Linked DNA regions of Homo sapiens: region 1 is linked to region 2. The links are contacts of gene promoters, found by promoter capture Hi-C in human tissues and cell types (Jung and others, 2019). All regions are on one chromosome and are shown on one strand. The core of a region is centred on a gene start or on the middle of the fragment in contact, and the rest is flanking DNA. Distances in the headings are between cores, read along the strand shown. Region 1 overlaps LINC01044 (long intergenic non-protein coding RNA 1044). Region 2 holds the start of SPACA7 (sperm acrosome associated 7).

Region 1 (7,117 bases), core at 4,161-6,660, 51 kb after region 2:
GCCTCTCGGACTCCTCACGGACACAGGCGTGTGTTTGAAACGGATCGATGTCCCCCCGGTTCCTTTCACAGACACCAGAAAGCCCGCGAACACACCTCACAGGCTCCGAGTAAGTGCAAGAAGAGGGCGCGGCAGGAGTTTCCCGGGGTCTCGGGGCGCAGGGGTGGTGCCCGCAGCACTCGCCTCTCCAGGCACGCGGGAGGCTGCGCGCAGCCCGGGCCGGCTCAAAGGCGGCGAGAACCGACGCAGCCACACCGCCACCTCGAGCGTGGCGACAGGGACGAGCTCACACACGCGGCAGGTGGGGCGCAAGCCGCCAGGAACACGGGCCCGGGGTCGGAGGAGGGGCATGGGGAGAAGAGGAGGCACCCACAGGCGGCGAGTTCAGAGTGGGAGCAGAGGCCGCGACGGAGCCTCGACCTCGGTCCCTGAGGTCCCAGGGCTGCGCCTGGCTCGGCAGACTCCGTCTAGAGATGCAGAAGGCGGGGCTGTGAGCGCCTCGCCCGTGACCTTCGGTTTCTTGGCCCTGTTGTTAGAGGCTTTAATTAGAAGTCTCTTCTTTCCATGACACATTTCTAATGCTCTTTGCCCACAACACAGACACTCGCTCTGAGCGCCAATAGGAACAATTCGTTCATGACGGGAGAACCGAGTGCTCCATTCTGAGTTCCCGCAGAGGGTTCTGTGCGTTTCCAGAAAGAGCAGATGGGGGCGCGGGCGTGTGTTTGAAGGAGCTTCGAAGAGGGTGGCCCCGTGGGGTGGGGTGGGGGGATGGGGCCTCGTGGCATGTGGAGGGTGGGGTGGGGGGATGGGGCCTCGTGGCATGTGGACAGTGACCCCAGGAAGCTTCCAGCCAAGAGGCGTCACTCACATGGAGCCGAGTGTGACTGAGGGTGAGCGGGTGGTGGGAGGCTACGTCCCGGGGGCGGCAGGCAGAGGGTGAGGTCCTCGGCCATGGGTGAGACTGAAGAGGGCCGCAGGATGCGCTGTCAGGGGCTGCTCCGGTAAGTATGCAAACATGGGGCATGTAACATGCATCCCTGACGGCTTTCCTTTGTGATTTAAAAAGCATGTTTTGGCCCGGTGCAGTGGCTCATGTCTATAATCTCAGCACTTTGGGAGGCTGAGGTGGGCGGATCACCTGTGGCCAGGAGTTCGAGACCAGCCTGGCCAACATGGCAAAACCCCATCTCTACTAAACATACAAAAATTAGCCGGGCGTGGTGGTGCGCGCCTATAATCCCAGCTACATGGGAGGCTGAGGCAGGAGAATCACTTGAACCCAGGAGGCAGAGGCTGCAGTGAGCTGAGATTGTGCCACTGCACTCCAGCCTGGGCAACACAGTGAGACTCCATCTCCAAACAACAACAACAAAACTAAAAAAATTATTGTATACATGTTTACAATAATACCTTCTCCCCACACCTGATTCACCTGTAGTCGTTTTCTGGTGCCCCTCATACCTCTGGGGAGCACCGGCCACCATGCCCCAGGTGGCAGTGTACGTGCCCTGCCCCTGGCCCGTCATCCCCTGATGGTCTCCTGAGTGGGAGCATGGAGCTGGGGGAGTGTGCCCAGGAGACTCTGAGCCCCGGCAGAACAAAGCGAGCTCTGCCTTCAGCCCTTTGGCCTGAGACTCTGTGCCTGAGAGTGGGAGCAGGACCCTCTGCACCCAGGGCAGCTGAGGGCAGCTCCTGGGGTTCATCAGCTTTGTTGAGTGACTACAGGCAAGTCCATAGAGAACATTCCTTCCTTCTTGTTTTGCTTTCACCCCATAATCTTTAAAACCAGTCTGCAAAAACATCAAAACACCTGGCTCAGAACTCAGGACTCGGGAACTCCTGCCAGGCTTTTTGGTGGAGGCTGCAGGCAGAGGATGGGATCCACTTGGAGGAGGCAGGCAAATCAGATGTGCAGGGTGGTCACTATCATAGTTTTCCAGGAAGGTCATGCTCCTGTGTGGAGCAGGGTGGACAGAAGGACCCAGGGGCTGGTGTAGGGCAAGTCGCTGATGCCCTTAGTTAATGGGGCCCTGAAGCAGAGTAAGTCCCAGCAGGATGGCCCGGCCAGGTCCCTGTGAGGTCCCCGGCGAATGGAGGTGAGGCCAGGGGCTGAGAAAGGACTCCATCTGCAGATGAAACCACAGAAAGTCCTGCTTCTCAACTTGGGGGTTTGGCTTGGGCAACGCCCTTGGTGAGACAAATCCAGAGCAAGGATGGTGAAGAACGCCCATTAGTCAGTGGCCTTCCTTTGTCTCTTAGCTTTTCCCTTGCGATATGGTTTGGCTCTGTGTCCCCACCCAAATCTCATCTTGACCTGTAATCCCTATGTGTCCAGGGAGGGAGGTGATTGGATCGCACAGGCAGTTCCCCCATGCTGTTCTCATCATAGTGAGTTCTCATGAGAGCTGATGGTTTTATAAGTGTCTGGAAGTTCCTCCTTTGCGCTTCTCTCTCCTGCCACCTTGTGAAGAAGGTGCTTTCTTACCCTTTGCCTTCCACTGTCATTGTAAGTTTCCTGAGGCCTCCCCACCCATGAGGAACTGTGAGTCAATTAAACCTCTTTCCTTTATAAAGTACCCAGTCTTGGGTATTTCTTCATAGCAGTGTGAAAACAGACTAATACACCTTGGAAATAATCTCATGCTTACAAAAGAGTTGCAAAAATAGCAAAACTAGTATAAAGTGTCTGCCCTACCCTCCACCCAGCTTCCCTGAAGGCTGCGGTTACGTAATTCATTGTGTTAAACTTACAGTCACATAGCAGATGACACTATTACCAGCCGGTCTACAGGCCTTGTGTGAATGCTACCAATTTCCCTGTGATTGCCTCTTTTCTGGTCCCAGACCCATTTCAGGGCCCAGGTTGCTTCTAGCTGCTGTGTCATTTGTCGCTGCCCAGCTGGGGGAGTTCTTCCTCCCTGTAGATTCCTCTTCAATGACCATGGCAGCTCTGGAGAGCTGATTTTATAGGATGCCCCTCTGTTTGGGTTCGTCTGATGTTTCTTCATGAATAAATTAAAATTATGCATTTTTGGCCAGAATGCCAAATGTCCTTCTGGGGCCTCCCGGCAGGCACGTGACGTCCCCCAGCCTCACTCCTGGTGGTGCAACTTTGACCACACAGGTAGGTGGCATCTGCCGGGCATCTCCCCTGTCAGCTTGGGATTTTCCCCTTTGCCATGATTTGGTGTCTTATGAAAAGGTATCTGGGGACTACGGAAATAGCCAGTTTCTCATACTTTTGCCTGCCGATCTCAGCTCCCTTGAGAACACTGCCTTCTACGCTTCTTCCCGTGCTGCTTGCCAAATGGTGGTGCTCCTGCTTTTCCCGTTTCTTCTTTCCTTCCACACTGAGTAACTGGGAGTCTCCTGTGAGAAAGGGCTGTCTCTCCCCACCCTATGTACTTATTTGATTACCTATTTTTATCAGCTTAAGCTCATGGATATTTATTCTATTCTATGGAATAGAATTTATTATTATTACTATTATTGTTCTTAGTTTAAAATTTCCAGCCCTGGCCACTGGGTGCTCCTTCAGTAGAAGAGCCCTACTAAAGCCACGTGCTGTGGAAGTGTGCTTTTCTAAACTTTCATTTTTTTTTTCTTTTCTTTGAGACAGAGTCTCACTCTGATCTTGGCTCACTGCAACCTCTGCCTCCTGAGTTCAACTGATTCTCCTGCCTCAGCCTCACCAGTAGCTGGGATTACAGATGCCCATCACCATGCCCGGCTAATTTTGTATTTTTAATAGAGACAGGGTTTTGCCATGTTGGCCAGGCTGGTCTCGAACTCCTGACCTCAAGCGATCCACCTGCCTCGGCCTCTGGGATTACAGATGTGAGCCATCGCACCTGTGCGTGAAGGTTTTCTAACCTTCTATCAGATTTTCTAACCTCCCCAAGCCACAGGATGAGAAAAGGTGAGTGACACTCTCAGGGACACAGGGCGGGGCAGAGGGCAGGGGCTGGCTGTGCGGCTGGCTCCTGGGGGATCACACAGCAGTGGGAGGGCCTGGTGCTGTCTATGGCTGCGGCTGCTGTCTGTACAGTGAACTGGTGAGAACCATGCAGATGTGGGGGACACGCCCCTGAGCACAGTCAGTGCTCTGCCCAAATCCAGATTTCTTTTCATCAGTGTTCTAAGGAAAGGATGCTGAACGTAGCGATGCTATTCAGGGACCTGTGGTGCCAGGCGAAGCTCAGTGCTGCACGCGAGCTTCCAGTCAGTCCTCAAAGCCACCTCAGAGCCAGGGCCCAGGCTATGGGCACGAAGCTTCATCAAGGAGGGTATCAGGGTGTCCGGCTGCTATGGAATATGACGGGGGTGCTCTCGCATGTGCTTGCACATGCTCTGTATGCATTTCTGTGCCCTCGTATACTCCCGTGTGCCCTTCTGTGCTTGTGTGTGCTCTCCTTTGCACTCGTGTGTGCTCGTGTGTGCTGGTGGGGTGAGTGTGATGCTCTAGGGAGGCCGTTCCCTCCGGGCGGCTGCCTTATCTATCTGCCCTGCCTCCCCAGGCCCCGCTGACTCCAGGCCTCCAGGAGATGGGGATTGAGCACCTGCCCTCTGTGTGCCCGGCCGTGGGTGTCCTGGGCTGAGCAGGAGGCACTGGCCCCACGTAGCCCTCACAGGGCAAAGCTGCTGCTCCCAGGGCAGAGGACATGTCTTCTCCCTGCCTGCTGCCTGGGGCTACTTTGTCCCTCACCTTGCTCAGGCCAAGACCCGACGCCCTGAACTGTGGTCACTGATGGGTGCCAGGTGGATCTCCGGGCACCGTGAGCCGGGCTGAGCTTGTTTTCCACGAGCCCATCGCTGTGGGTGTCGTGCACGTGCTGGGGCTGGCTCTTGTCAGGGAACACTGTGATGACTCACACGCCTAAAAATAGCGTCTTGATGTCCTGAAATCATACAACAGAAACATTTCTAACCTCCTCCAAATTCCATGGGTGACTGGGACTTTTGGCTGTGGTCTGCTCCTGAGCACTGTCAGAGGCTGCGATGGGCTACCGGGTCCCTCTTCGGTCCGGCTCGTGGGGAGGTGCCGGTGGGCGGTGCAGGGAACGAGGCTGGGGTCTGCACGCGTGTGCTGTTTCTCGGCCTGAGAGTGAGCTATGCATGCTGAAGGCCTGGTGGGTGGGCAGCCAGGAAAATGCTTTGTGTTTTGGGGTCTGTTCTTCACTCATTGTAGGAGACTCTGTGTAGTTTAAGCTCTAGAGAGAGTGATCTCTGGAAGCCAAAATAGACATAAAGTTTACATTCAAATGCCGTGTATCTCAGTGCATTCAGAAATGCGCTTAAATGCTGGAAAGCACTGCTTTCCCCGTGGATGACTGAGGTTTCTTCTATTTCGTTATAACGTTGTTTCTGGAAAAGAGATCATCAAGATGCAGAGGCCGTGGCTGCGACGGAGGAAGGAAGTGGGGGAGCCACGGCAGGAGAGAGGAGAGAGAGAGGGAGCTCGGAGGAGGGGGCTGCCTCGCGGTGTTCAGGACACCTGTGCCCCGGTTACCTGTCTGTGTCCCCGTGAAGAGTTGTTACTGCTCATCGGTTGCTTCCGCCCTGCAGGAATCATGGTCCTTTCGTGTGGCGAGGTCACCAAGCAGCGTCACCACCCCAGACGACAGCAGGTCACCCTCCCTGGCTGCCGCGTGGCAGGGCGGGTTCAGGGACGGACTCTGCGCTTCACTCTGATTTTTGTCATTTTTGTGGGTTGAAGTTAGACCCCCTATTCTGTTGTTTGAACACAGATCTGGGCCACTTTACTGATATTAGTTACCTGCTGTGCCTCTTAGCACCTCCCGACTTCCTTGCTGTACTCTGAAAATGCAGGTTTTGTGCACCTGAATTATAATCTTGCTGTGATAATGCGCCTGTATTGATTCAACAAAATGAGTTGTCTATTTTGTTTTCACTTCGACATCTCTAAGAAGGAAAGACTGACAATCGGGAACATAAATATTTTGGACTTCACATCTTGTGGCATGAAGATGATAAAAAAAAGTGTAATAATTACGAGGTAAAATTTTACCAGGAAATGCAGTTCTGTTTGAACTGGAGGATGAACTCACAGAAAGCACTTATTCTAGAGCAGTGTTAAAATGCTTCAATTGCCCAAGCATCTAAAAGGCAGAAAATTGATAGCATTCCATTAAAGGTGCAACAAACCAAATCTAAATATGTAGAAACTGCTGCCTGGGTCAGGATTGATTTTAGGCTTTATAAAAAATATATAAAGGGTTTTATTTCTACAGTGCTTTATGCTAGACATTGTCTTTGGGCTCTAAGGGGTTTCTCTGATTTACCAAGCACGATTATAAATAATATCTTCAAAGGATTGCGGAATATTCTAACCCTACATTTTTTTTTAACATGAGTTTGATGTTTTCTCGTAGGTTCGGGTTCATTTAAATAGATTGGTTTGAGTTGGATTTCAGTGCTTAATTATAATTATTGTACGTAACTGAACATTTCAATATAATGAACCAATTGATCAGGCTTATATTCATATTTGAAGAAAACTGGTATTTTTGAAAACAAACAGGAAGATAATTTTCTTTAGAATTATGACTAATATGACTAAGTTTCCTGACTGTCCCCATCTCTCTCTCTGAGGCCCGTTACTGGTTTGGAAGATGCTTTAGAATCACAGGTTTTTGTTATTCCCTAGACTGACTGGGGCTAGAAAGGGGTGGGGGCGGCGGGGGATGATGCGGGGCTGTTCAGTTTCCACGCATCCCTCCCGGTATAAATGAAGCTTCCTCAGCAGATGGTCCTCGCCCCCCACCTGTGGCTGTCGTAACAAAGTGCCACACGCCAGGTGGCATATGACAGCACGAGTTTCTTACCTCCAGCTCTGCAGGAGGCTGGAAGCCTGAGACCCTGCCCCTCTGAGCCCCGCAGGGAGGAGCCTTTCGCCGCCTCTTCCAGCTCCTTGCCGCTCCTGGCTCGTAAACCCATCACTCCTGTCTCTGGCCCTGCTGCTGCATGGCTGTCTTCCCTCTGCGCATGTCTGTGTCCATGTTTTCCCATTTAATAAAGACATCGGCCATTGAATTAGGGCCCCCCCTACTCAGTGTGACCTCATCTTAACCAGTTATATCTGCAAGGACCCCGT
Region 2 (6,743 bases), core at 3,796-6,295:
CATCTGAGCCTCCCAAGCAGCCAGAACTATAGACACATGCCACCACACCCTGCTAATTTCTGCATTTTTTTTGGTAGAGATGGGGTTTCACCATATTTCCCAGGCTGGTTTTAAATTCCTGGGCTCAAGTGATCCACCAGCTTTAACCTCCCAAAGTGCTGGGATTAGAGGTATGAGCCACTGCACCCAACCTGTGTTTGCCTTTTAAAAACAGTTTCTAAACATCTTTTTGGTGACTCATCACCCTGGCGTCATGATCAGTTAAGTAAAACAAGAGTTTCATTAATAATTTTTAAATAAGATAAGCTATTGAAACACTCAGTACTAAGCAAAGTTTTCTTATTTTATATGATACAGAGAGACTAAATGTATTTGAGTCTGTTAACAAAAGTTGTTTTTGCCACCTTGAAAAATTATGCTGTAGATAAATATATCTCTAAAAATTGTAAGATGGTATAGTCATACAATTTGCTACTTTGTTACAGAATGCTATATGTGACACAATTCACAACTGTCTACTCCTAGTTTTCTCTGTTGAACATTGTAATCAACATAATCAACATGTGTAATTAAAACTATTGGAAATAATGAGGGTGAAGAAAAACAACTTCCTGTGCAAAGTATAAAGGAAAGTAAGATCTGTTTTTGATAAGAAAGCTTATGTGATATGAAGAATGTGTTTTTGTTGACGAAAAAAGTGAGTAATTTTGTCCTACAGTGGTTTAAAATTTGTTTTTTCAGGAAGAGAAAAAACCGGACAAAATGCGTAAATTAGTATGGAAAGATGTAACGAGTCTCTGAGAAAAAAAGAGAGAGAAAAATCTTATGTGGTGAAGATACACTAGCAGTAAATGAATTTTATTATAAGATTTTATAGATGAGCTTTAGTATCAAGAGTGTAGCAATGCAGTACTGGAGTTTGATTTTCTCTGTCTGCTAAAAGGCCAAAGTTTTGTTGAATTATTGGTCTGGTTTTTTTTTTTTTTTTTTTTTTGAGACTGAGTTTTGCTCTTGTTGCCTAGGCTGGAGTGCAATGGCGTGATCTTGGCTCACTGCAACCTCCACTTCCTGGGTCCAAGTGATTCTCCTGCCTCAGCCTCCCAAGTAGCTGGGGTTACAGGCATGCACCACCATGTCTGGCTAATTTTGTAGAGATGGGGTTTCACCATGTTGGTCAGACTGATCTTGAAATACTGACATCAGATTATCCGCCCATGTTGGCCTCCCAAAGTGCTGGGATTACAGGCATGAGCCACCACGCCAGGCCTGGTCTGTTCTTAATAAGAGATTGTAAGAGGTACTTGTTTCTTACCTGTTGAGTAGTCTTACTAGGAAACAAAGATTCTGTGTCTTATCAAATATTTCCTGTGTTTCATGTTTTCTTTATCATGTTTTTGATTACTTAAGAAAACTGAGTCTCCTCAATATTAAAAGAGCTAAATTGTTTTAAAAACCATGCTACTTCCTATATTTTCTTTAAAAATTCTTTACTGTCATTTAACTTAAATGGATAGCTACCATTTCATAGTAACTTATGATCCTATTTAACCAAATATTCAAAACTTTTATAATTTTTGACAACTTCATCCAAGTAAAATTCTAAATGAAGAATTTTGACCTCAAACTAATTTTGAGATTTCCCAGAGGGCCACTAGAAAATCTCAAAGGATTTGTTCTCTCACTTGGTGAAAAGAAAGATGTTAAACTAATTAGCTTTATTTGATACATTAAATTCGTAAAAAGCATTGTCAAATAAGGGATGTTTAACCTTCTTTATATTTGTATGCATATATGTTATAAGTGTTTCAGAAATTGTATTAAATTCCTAGAAATTTTCACTGTCCTTACTGTCCATGATATGTCCTGGTATAAAGTTATGAGTCCTAATTTCCGTTATTGTCTTGTAATGTTGTATGTCACAGAAACAACCAAATTTCCTTGTCAATTGCAGCATAATGAACTCTCATCAGATTTTTAACCATGGCCATTTTATGCATTTTATGTCTTTTGTCATTCAAGACAATTATTGTTTTACTCTGATGCTTTTTTGAAAGCTTTTGCAATCAGCTACAGTCCAAAAATTCTTTGTCTTCAAGGAGATTTTTAGGTAAGACTCTGCCAAGTACTCTGGAGTAAGGTTTCTGACGCCTCTAAGATTGCACTATTAGACTGGACTTTTCCAGAACTCAGGGAGACATTGACGGATTTGTAAACCTGCTAACCCAAGATCAAGTAGAACAAGAATTAATGATGTGGGACTCAATGTGGGGACGATTATAATTTTTCTGAATTTTCTTGGAAATGTTTCTGGTTTTTTAATGTTTTGTTTTCCAGATTTAAAGAACTCTCTGCTTCCGGTTTCTCTTAGGCTACGCATAACGGACAACAATTTGGTAATTACACTTTCATAAACAAAAATGAAGCATTTATATTTTTTGTCCCACCTGATTACTCTAGAATTTGGATATTATGATTTTCAGGACCATACAATTGTTTGCGTAAGTTTAATAAAAATTGATTCTCCTTGCAACAGGACACGATTGGAAACATTGGTCATATTACCAAGGCTTTGACTGGAATGTCATATTTGAGATTGATACATAGAATCAGAGGTGACCAGACAGTTTTTAAAAACTGAGGTTGATTTGATGGAGCTGGAGAAACTGACCTGCTACCTGGCTCACCGGGTCCCCATCCCACAGGTGAGTGAAGAAGGTCATTTGCTGGCAGATCCAGGAACTTTGGGAACCTCGAGACCTTCGGAAGAGAGAAATTCACCCAAGTCTTTAGGTACCACATGTGAAGTCTGATGGTGAGTTTTTGGCTGGGCTTCCTAGCCTCAAAAAGCTTTTAAAAAATCTAATCTGAGATTCCTTGTAAAAAGCTCCAGCAGAGAAAACTCAGTTTATGTGGTCCATTACCATTCTTGCTGCACTTATGTAAATAATCAGACCAAATCTTGTAAGATGTGATATATTTTTGAGACAAGAATAGCATTACTTTGGTTATCTTGATCAAAAAAAGAGGGTGACCATAGAGCCATATTTTATGTTTTAATGAAAAATGGTAGCACACCCTTGTGAGTTATAACCCTGTGTATTCTACTTTTTTTTATCTTTTGATAAACTCCACCTTACTTTCTACTTTGTTATCTACCTGTAAACTGGACTGGATCCTGAAGCCTTTTAGAGTCCTTCAATGTTCCCAGGCTAACATTTCCAGTCTTTCTTCTGCCCTCCTGACTGGGTGTTAGTGAGAACTAAAGCCTGACAACTCAGGCCTTCCGTGGGACCATCTGGAAAGGCTGAAGCTGGACACATCCACGCTCTGCCCCCAGCATAACCATGACTGTGGCTCTGATGGTCATGATGTCACCAAGGACACACCCCCTGCAAACTAGGAAATCCATCCTTGCCCCATCGGCTGAAGATACCTTGAGCCCAAAATCCAGAAATCTTCTCAACAGACTGCCCTCTGGATTCGGAAACTGTGTTTCCAACTATAAATCTTTGTTTTTCTTCTCTTTTTCGTAGACATTCCCCTCATTAAATTCCCGACTACTTGTACCATCCAGCACACATCCTCCACCAGATGAAACATGGACTTATCTTGTTCAAAGAGAAAAGGAATGTCTCTTCTTTCTTGAACAAGAGGAGGGAATGAGAAAGCCTCGCTCCTTGACTTACCTCATGCCAGGCTCCTCTGAGTCTTCTCTTTGACTAGGCCTTGACCCTAGCTTCTGCTTTTGTCTGCTTTTCCCCATGTTTAGTAGGAATCCTGTGAAGTCTTTTAGTGGAAATCCCCTAGTCTTGGCCTGGTCACCCTTGATATCTGATCAAATTCCTCACCCTCCATCTTTGATTATTTTATTGCCTTGGCTTCCTTTCAGGTCTGGCCTCCTGTTTGGCCGAACACAATATACACAATAATTGAACTAGAGGGTGAATACATGGAGGTTCATGATATTCTTCCAAGTTAGAAATTTTCCATAATAAAAAGTTAAAATAAGTAACATATGCAACTCTCTCATGGATGTCTAGATTTTAAAAGGTCTTCAAAGATAGCAGACCTTTGTGTCCTGTTGCAAGGATAATCAATTTTTATTAAACTTATGCAAACAATTGTATGGTCCTGAAAATCATAATATCCAAATTCTAGAGTAATCAGGTGGGACAAAAAATATAAATGCTTCATTTTTGTTTATAAAAGCCCTCTTGGCCTTTGCTGAATCAGTTTAGCAAAGAATTCTCCTACCTTTTAGCAATGTTCATCCACTGACCCACCCTGATCCTTGGCTGCAAATCTCCACTTTCCCTGTATTTGGAGTTGAGCCCACTCTCCACTATTATGAGACACCATGGTAGTAGCCCCCTTTGAATAAAGGCTGCCTGCCCATCTTTAGCAAGCATCACAAATATTTTTTAACGGTATGAGCTGAGATAAAGGCTTTTGGTAATTATGTTAGTCTGATTATGACATTGTAGATAATGCTTTTATCTCTTCGCAAGAAAATGTTTTACATGAGGTGGTAAGGCATCTGGGATGGTGCTAAAATACTCCCCAAACAAGAAAAGTGTGTGTATGTGGTGTGGAGTGTGTATGTGTGTGTGTGTAGAAAAAAACAAAATATGCACAATAATTGAACCTGAGGGTGAATACACGAAGGTTCATGATATTCTTCCCAGTTAGAAATTTTCCATAATAAAAAGTTAAAATAAGTAACATTTGCAACTTTCCTATGGACATCTAGATTTTAAAAAGTCTTCAAAGATAGAAAGACTTTTCAGCTACATTCATTCCCCAAGGAATAAATGGTAAATTCATGTAGGTTGGGAATAAGAGGAACCCATGGGAGAAGAGGCCGCCGCTCCCCACCTGGTTCAGTTCTCTTTCTGCTGAGACATCCCTGTGGGGCCCTACCTGGAATCACGGTTCTCGGCCGGAGCTCAGTTTCTTGCCAACAGCACAGCAGGAGGACAAAGCAGAGGGTCCCGTCTCCTTGGCTCACTGCCATGCTCCCTCCAGCTGAGGGAGAAGGACGTTCTGAAGGTTGACAGTTTCCCATCCTTGGTCTCCAGGACACTGTGGAATGTCAGGACCTGTGACATCACAACCAGGAAGGGAGCTGGGGTCCTGCCCTGGTGGGGAGGTCATGTCCAGGGACCTGTGACATCAGGACCAGGAAGGGAGCTGGCATCTTGCCAGGGGCGGGGGGCAGGGTTTCTGTCCAGAGTCTGTGACTGGGAAGCAGGGAGGAGGCTCACTGGGGTCTTAAGGTAACAGAGATCCTCTCCACTCTTTCTTATTGCCTGTTCTGGTGACTTCCTCTGTCCTGAGCACCCTGAGGACTCAAGGGGTAGATACTAATCAGGACTTAAGGGCCAGTGGCCAAAAGCCAACAAAATCTGCTCCCATGGAAAGAGGCGTATTTGAAGGATGCTGGAGAGGTGGTTGAATTACAGAGCAAGTGCCAGAACCGACAGATCCAGAGGGTCTAATCACCTCTTAAAGGTCCCTTGAAGAACAGAGCCTTGAAGAACAGAGGCCCGTGGCCCCATGTCCCCTCCCACCCTCCCCCACCCTCAAAGTTCCAGGATCATGAAGAACAGGAGACAGATGACCCAGGTTTCAGCCTCCTTTCCCCCACACCTTCTTTCTCAGCATCAGCCCCAATCTTTCCCTGGCAGTGAGACTTTAATCACGAGAGGAGAACATGGCTGCATTTCCATGTTATCATCCTCCCAGCTCTATCTCCTAGACTTTCTAGAGCTTTCTCCATCCGTGCAGTGACAAAACCCCAAAGGAGTCACTCTGGTTGGCTCCCCTGGATCCTATCTCACCCCTGGACTGACTCCTACATCCAGGGCTCAGAGTGGGGCAGCTGGTCTAGACTCGGCCGGTGGTGGGGTCCCAGGTGAACAGCCCTCAGATCCCAGCTCCATGGTGGAGAGGGCTGGTGTGTTTGTCTGTTCCCACACTGCTATATAGAACTTCCCTGAGACTGGGTAATTTATAAAGAAAAGAGATTTAATTGACTCACAGTTCTGCATGGCTGGGGAGGCCTCAGGAAACTTACAATCATGACGGAAGGGGAAGCAGGCACCTTCTTCACAAGGCGGCAGGAGAGAGAGTACATGAAGGAGGAGCTGTTAAACACTTATAAAACCATCAGCTCTAGTGAGAACTCACTTATCATGAGAACAGCATGCAGGAATCCACTCCCATGATCAGATCGCCTCCCACCAAGTCCCTCCCTCAACACGTGGGATTATGAGGATTATAATTCAAGATGATGCTTGGGTGAGGACACAGAGCCAAACCATATCACTGGGGCCCTGGACGCACAAGACTAACAATGCCCCCGAGGTCTGGTCAGGACCCCAAGGATGGCTGACCCACCATGGGTCTCTGGCTCTTTAATTTTTATTGCTTGTATGGGAACCCACAGCACATTTTTGCTCAGGTTTTCCTTTTGATAGATGCAGTGGTAGCCAATCTACCTCAAGGTGTGGGGAGTATATTTCAGATTTTCAGCGTGTCCATAAAGGCACACTAAGCATGGTTGACATTTACAGAAACCCAGTGGGTTCCAAGTCCCACTCTGAGTTAATGAATGGTCCAAGTGAGATGCTTGCTTCTATAACCCAGGCTCTTGCTACTCAGAATGTCATTTTGGGGCCAGCAGCATGGGCCTAAGAGGCTGAATGTACAAACGGACAGCAGCCAGAGCTCCCATGACAGCA

Evidence for each region. Contacts are between HindIII fragments. The study calls those that stand out against the background at their distance.
Region 1: a fragment that was not itself captured here is called in contact with the fragment with the promoter of SPACA7 in region 2 in 3 of the 25 tissues and cell types used here (dorsolateral prefrontal cortex, pancreas and spleen).

Annotation. Positions count from the first base shown.
Region 1 is chr13:112,324,051-112,331,167 of GRCh38, reverse strand. It overlaps LINC01044 (long intergenic non-protein coding RNA 1044), which reads left to right. Exons shown (of 3, transcript NR_126345.1): 1 at 1-109; 2 at 3,623-3,922. Among named protein-coding and RNA genes, the nearest start is that of LINC01044, 3.6 kb to the left of the region's middle. The HindIII fragment of the contact is 5,698 bases long and covers 2,562-7,117 here.
Region 2 is chr13:112,374,657-112,381,399 of GRCh38, reverse strand. It overlaps SPACA7 (sperm acrosome associated 7), which reads right to left and starts at 5,045. Exons shown (of 7, transcript NM_145248.5): 1 at 4,921-5,045. The coding sequence starts at 5,014. LOC105370373 (a long non-coding RNA gene) reads left to right here and starts at 5,122. Exons shown (of 3, transcript XR_944295.3): 1 at 5,122-5,276. LOC105370372 (a long non-coding RNA gene) reads left to right here. Exons shown (of 5, transcript XR_944294.2): 4 at 2,335-2,393; 5 at 2,534-2,662. RefSeq lists an enhancer at 2,394-3,593. The HindIII fragment of the contact is 14,702 bases long and covers 2,452-6,743 here.